Regions from separate parts of the Homo sapiens genome. Here region 1 is linked to region 2. The links are contacts of gene promoters, found by promoter capture Hi-C in human tissues and cell types (Jung and others, 2019). All regions are on one chromosome and are shown on one strand. The core of a region is centred on a gene start or on the middle of the fragment in contact, and the rest is flanking DNA. Distances in the headings are between cores, read along the strand shown.

The links. The method cuts DNA at HindIII sites, captures the fragments that hold promoters and counts their contacts. A contact is called where the count stands out against the background at its distance.
Region 1: a contact is called between the fragment with the promoter of ZFP36 here and a fragment that was not itself captured in region 2, in 1 of the 25 tissues and cell types used here (hippocampus).

The regions. Positions count from the first base shown.
Region 1 is chr19:39,405,497-39,408,511 of GRCh38, forward strand. It overlaps ZFP36 (ZFP36 ring finger protein), which reads left to right and starts at 1,351. Exons shown (of 2, transcript NM_003407.5): 1 at 1,351-1,432; 2 at 2,247-3,015. The coding sequence starts at 1,409. RefSeq lists a silencer at 945-1,394 and enhancers at 1,515-1,714, 1,765-2,402, 2,403-3,015. The HindIII fragment of the contact is 20,061 bases long and covers 1-3,015 here.
Region 2 is chr19:38,339,438-38,342,626 of GRCh38, forward strand. All of the region lies in intron 3 of CATSPERG (catsper channel auxiliary subunit gamma), which reads left to right. Among named protein-coding and RNA genes, the nearest start is that of CATSPERG, 5.2 kb to the left of the region's middle. The HindIII fragment of the contact is 4,605 bases long and covers 1-3,189 here.

The DNA of each region.
Region 1 (3,015 bases), core at 101-2,600, 1.1 Mb after region 2:
AGCCGGGCAGGAGAGTAACTTCACTTTGGTTTCCTCCTGCCTTAAATGGGCATACCACCTGGCATTAGGATTAATGTGCGTAAAGTACTTAGAACTCAGCCCAGGTGAGTTCTCCTTAACTCAGCCTAGAAGAGATCATCCGCCCGAGGGTGAGGGGGCTAGAGCCGCCCTGTGAATTGGGAAAGGAGGCCCCTTTTCAGCCTTGCCAGGTATCCTGGACCCCACCCAACCCACTCACTCACCCACCCAACCCCAGCAAGTGGGGAGAGGGAGAGCAGTCCAGGTCTCCTTATCTGTCTGGGCTGTTTAGGAGTGAGACCACACAAGGCAGGCAGTTCTCAGAGAATTCCCCTCCAAGGCCTGCTGGCTCTTTCTTGGCACTTTGCTCTGCAGATTTCTTTCCGTAAGTGCTTATTTCTCACAGTCTTTCTCCTTTTTGTCCAGTTTCTTTTTCTTTTTAATTTTTTTAAATAGTATTTTTTGTAGACATGGGATCTCACTGTTGCCCAGGCTGATCTTGAACTCCTGATCTCAGGTAATCCACCTGCCTCATCCTCTGAAAGTACTGGGATTGGCCGGGCTTGGTGGCTCACACCTGTAATTCCAGCTCTTTGGGAGGCGGAGGTGGGAGGATCGCTTGAGCCCCGGAGCTGGAGATTAGCCTGGGCAACATAGGGAAACCCCGTCTTTCAAAAAAAAAAAAAAAGAAGAAGAAAAAGGAAAGAAAAACACAAAAAGTGCTGGGATCACAGGTGTGAGCCACTGCGCTCAGCCCCTTTCTGTTTCTTTTTGTGATCCTCCCAACCCTCTTCTCCCTCTGAATCTGTCTCTGGGACTGTCTCTGTCTCCCCGTCTTCCCTCCCTTCCTCACCCTGTCTATCTCTCTCTGTATGTCTCTTGGTGTGTGTGTCTCTCTCGATGTTTTTCTCTCTGCCTGTCTGCCTGTCTGTACCCCTCTGCGTCTCTCCCCGCCCCCATCCGTCTGTGTCGCACGCGCACCCCCATCGGGCTTCTGCTCTTGTCAATTGCCCCTGGGGCCCTGCCCCCACCTCCGCCCCAGTTTCCTTCTACAAGCCTCAGTCTCCAGCTTTGAAAACTGGGCAGGCGTCCCCCCATCCGCACCCCCACCCCTTCCCCACGCATTCCCCGCTCGGTCACGGCTGTCCACCGGCCAAGCTCAGGCGCGTCCTGGCCCAGGGCCGGGCGGAAGGGAACCAGTCCAGGGCCAGCCAGGCTGCGCCGGGGGCGCGCGTCCGGGAAGCGCCCCTCCTGCCCCGCCCCCGGCCCCGGCCCCGGCCCCGCCCCGTGCTTGCAGTTTCCTATAAGTAGCCGGCTCTCGGTGCCAGCCTCAGCCTGACTTCAGCGCTCCCACTCTCGGCCGACACCCCTCATGGCCAACCGTTACACCATGGATCTGACTGCCATCTACGAGGTGAGTCCCCGCCGCACGGCATCCCCGGTACCTGCATGCCTGAGTCCGAGTCCCCACCTCTCTAGCGCCGCAAACTCCAGCCCGGGACGCTTGCCTCCCTTCTCCAACTGGGGCTCCCTAGCGCCGCGCCCTCCAGCCTGGGGCCCCTGCCTCCCGCTCAGACCAGCTTGGTGATTTGGAGGTGAAAATGGAACCCGCGACACCCGGCTCTTCGCTCAAACATGGGTGGGGCGGCCCATGCAAGTGGAAAGTCGGAGAACTTTTCTCAGACCGAGGCTGCCTGGAGGCGGAAGTGGCCCCCATACCTGGCTCACCCCTAGTCGTTGCTGAGGGCGTGGTTTTGCGCGGAGGCGTCTCTGGGGCTGAAGTCTCAGGGTGGGGGGATCCGACTTCTGTCTCTCCAGTCCCTGACCGTAGAGACAGAGAACCCTAAAACCGAAGCAATCCGGACTTCCAGGTCAACTTTGCCCGGTTTCTCCAGTTGTGAAACTGGAGATCCCGACGCGTGGGTCATATCCGGGGAGGACAAGAGACCCAAAATTGGGAAACAGTGGTGCGCCCTGACTTCGGGGTCCCCCTCTTGGTCCAGCCGGGGAAGCCGGGATTCCTGGGTCCCTCGGGATAAGGCCTCGGTGGTGGGTAAACTCAGAACCTCCAACTCTGGGTTCCTGGCATCCGGAACCCAGGGGTTTCTGCGGGCGGGTGGGGCTCAGGCGGGGAGCCCACAAACCGGCCTGGCAAGCTCTAGTTCCCTGCAGCTGGGGTGGGGCGTCGCCCTGCATTTTCAGGTGCCTTAACCGACCCATTTCCGCAGAGCCTCCTGTCGCTGAGCCCTGACGTGCCCGTGCCATCCGACCATGGAGGGACTGAGTCCAGCCCAGGCTGGGGCTCCTCGGGACCCTGGAGCCTGAGCCCCTCCGACTCCAGCCCGTCTGGGGTCACCTCCCGCCTGCCTGGCCGCTCCACCAGCCTAGTGGAGGGCCGCAGCTGTGGCTGGGTGCCCCCACCCCCTGGCTTCGCACCGCTGGCTCCCCGCCTGGGCCCTGAGCTGTCACCCTCACCCACTTCGCCCACTGCAACCTCCACCACCCCCTCGCGCTACAAGACTGAGCTATGTCGGACCTTCTCAGAGAGTGGGCGCTGCCGCTACGGGGCCAAGTGCCAGTTTGCCCATGGCCTGGGCGAGCTGCGCCAGGCCAATCGCCACCCCAAATACAAGACGGAACTCTGTCACAAGTTCTACCTCCAGGGCCGCTGCCCCTACGGCTCTCGCTGCCACTTCATCCACAACCCTAGCGAAGACCTGGCGGCCCCGGGCCACCCTCCTGTGCTTCGCCAGAGCATCAGCTTCTCCGGCCTGCCCTCTGGCCGCCGGACCTCACCACCACCACCAGGCCTGGCCGGCCCTTCCCTGTCCTCCAGCTCCTTCTCGCCCTCCAGCTCCCCACCACCACCTGGGGACCTTCCACTGTCACCCTCTGCCTTCTCTGCTGCCCCTGGCACCCCCCTGGCTCGAAGAGACCCCACCCCAGTCTGTTGCCCCTCCTGCCGAAGGGCCACTCCTATCAGCGTCTGGGGGCCCT
Region 2 (3,189 bases), core at 585-3,084:
TTCCAAGACTCTTTTACATTATGTCAGACATGCAAGCCCTGCCTCAGCTTCTCCTAACACTCTGTCGCCCAGGCTGGAGTGCAGTGGCGCAATCTCGGCACACTGCAGTCTCTGCCTCCTGGGTTCTAAGCGATTCTCCTGCCTCAGCCTCCTGAGTAGCAGGAATTAAAGTTTTTAATTTTGGTGAAGCCCAGTTTATAAATTTTTTTCTTTTTTTTGCTTGTGTTTTTTGTGTCATTTACAAAGGCCTTGCGTAACTAAAGATCATGAAGACTTACTCATATTTTCTTCAAGAGATTTTTAGTTTTAGCTCTTACATTTAGGTCTTTCATCCATTTTGAGTTAATTTTTGTATATGGTGTGAGGTCCAAGCTTTTACACGTGCATATCCAGTTGTCCCAATGCCGTTTGGTGAGATTCTTCTTTTTTTTTTTTGAGACAAAATCTCATTCTGCCACCCAGGCTGGAGTGCAGTGGCGTGATCTTGGCTCACTGCAACCTCCCCCTCCCAGGTTCAAGCGATTCTCCTGCCTCAGCCTACTGAGTAGCAGGAATTACAGGCATGCGCCACCATGCCTGGCTAATTTTTATATTTTAGTAGAGACAGGGTTTCACCATGTTGGCCAGGCTGGTCTCGAACTCCTGACCTCAGGTGATCCACCTGCCTTGGCCTCCCAAAGTGCTGGGACTACAGGCGTGAGCCACCATGCCTGGCCTGTTGAGATTATTCTTTCCCCGCTGAATTGTCTTGGCACCTTTGTCAAAAATCAATTGAATATAAATATAAGGGTTTCTTTCTGGACTCAATTCTATTCTAAATGAATTGATTTCTCAATAATTCATTGCTCTAAATGCCTATTCATATGCCAGTATCACAGAGTCTTTTTTTTTTTCTTTTTTTGAGACAGGGTCTCACTCTGTCACCCAGGCTGGAGTACAGTGGCATGATCTCGGCTCAGTACAGCCTACACATTCTGGGTTCAAGCGATTCTCCTGCCTCAGCTGCCCAAGTAGCTGGGACTACAGATGTGCGCCACCACGCCCGGCTAATTTTGTATTTTTGGTAGAGATGGGGTTTCTCCATATTGGTCAGGCTGGTCTTGAACTCCTGACCTCAGGTGATCCACCTGCCTCGGCCTCCCAAAGTGCTGGGATTATAGATGTGAGCCACCGCGCCCGGCCAATAATTTTATTTTTTTAGAGACAGGGTCTTGCGCTGTCACCCAGGCTGAAATGCAGTGGCTTGATCATAGCTCATTGCAGCCTCGACCTCCTGGGCTGAAGTGATCCTCCTGCCTCAGCCTCCCAAGTAGCAGGGACTACAGGCTCAAGCCATCACACCAGTGTACTTTCAATTAGACAGGGTCTCACTATGTTGCCTAAGGCTGGCATGAAAGAATTTCTGAGAGTAGTATTAATAAATGCAAATAATAAAATGAGGTAATACGTTAGAAAGGAGGGGGGGGCACTGTTTTAGTGGGGGTCGTTGGAGAAGGTCACTCTGGAAAGGCTTGAGCAGAGACTCAAATGATAAAAAGTGGGGATTATTAGGAGAGCCAGGTAAAGCTTTCCAGGCCGAGGGAAGAGCCAGCACGATGGCCCAGAGGTAGGAAAGAGGTCAGCATGTGTGAGAAACTATGAAGAGGACTTTGTGGCTGGAGCAGAGTGAGTGAGAGGGAGTGTGGGAGGAGAGGTCAGGGAAGTGATGGGGGAAGGTTTTTGGGGCTTGATGGGCCATGGTGAGGACTTGGCTTTTACTCTGAGACAGAGCCTGAGAGGGCCCTATGCAGAGGAGGGATTGGATCTGATTCCAGGCTTCACTGGCTCCCTCCTGTTGTTGGGGGAGCAGGGCAGGAGCAGTGAGACAAGGAGGAGGCTGCTACATTGCCCAGGCAGGAGATGACGGGGACAGGACCAGGGTGTTAGTGGCTACTGTCATCCTCACAGGAAGGAGGTCCCTGCCCCACTAGCACCTTCTCCTCTGCAATGGGAACTCAGGCAGGGCCAGGGACAGGTGTAGTTGACAGGATTGAAAAGAGCCTGGTGCTGGGTGTGGTGGCTCATACCTATAATCCCAGCACTTTGGGAGGCCAGGGAGAGAAGATTGCTTGAGCCCAAGAATTCAAGACCAGCCTGGACAACATAGGGAGACCCTGTCTCTACAAAAAAAATCAAAAAATTGGGCCGGGCATAGTGGCTCATGCCTGTAATCCCAGCACTTTGGGAGGCCAGGGCAGGTGGATCACCTGAGTTCAGGAGTTCGAGACTAGCCTGACCAACATGGTGAAACCCCATCTCTACTAAAAATGCAAAAATTAGCCGGGCGTGGTGGCGCATGCCTGTAATCCCAGCTACTTGGGAGGCTGAGGCAGGACGATCGCCTGAACCTAGGAGGCAGAGGGTGCAATGAGCTGAGATGGCGCCCTTATACTCCAGCCTGGGCAACAAGTGCAAAACTCCGTCTCGGAAAAAAAATAAAAAATAAAAAAATTAGCCAGGCGTGGTAGTGGTACCTGTAGTCCCAGCTATTTGGGAGGCTGAGGTAAGAGGATTGCTGAAGTCTGGGAGAGGTGGAGGTTACAGTGAGCTGTGATGGCACCACTGCACTCCGGACTGGGCAACAGAGCAAGACCTTATCTTAAAAAAAAAAAAAAAAAGCCAGGTGCAGTGGCTTACACCTGTAATCCTAGCATTTTAGGAGGCTAAGGCTGGAGGATTGCTTGAGGCCAAGAGTTCAAGACCAACCTGGCCAACATAGCAAGACCCTGTCCCATGTAAAAAATAAATAAATAAATAAATAAATAAATAAATTACAGAAATAGCCAGCCTGGGCAACAGAGTAGACTCTGTCTCTACAAAAATTAAACAGTTTTCAAAGAAAGAATGGCCTGGTGGCTCATGCCTGTAATCCCAGCACTTTGGGAGGCCGAAGCGCGCAGATCAGTTGAGGTCAGGAGTTTGAGACCAGGCTGGCCAACGTGGTGAAACCTCATCTTTACTAAAAATACAAAAATTAGCTGGGCATGGTGGTGCACGTGTGTAGTCCCAGCTACTCAGGAGGCTGAGGCAGGAGAATCACTTGAACCCAGGAGACAGAGGCTGCAGTGAGTCGAGATCATGCCACTGCACTGTAGCCTGGGCGACAGAGTGAGACTCCTTCTTGAAAAAAAAAAAAAAAAGGAAAAGAAA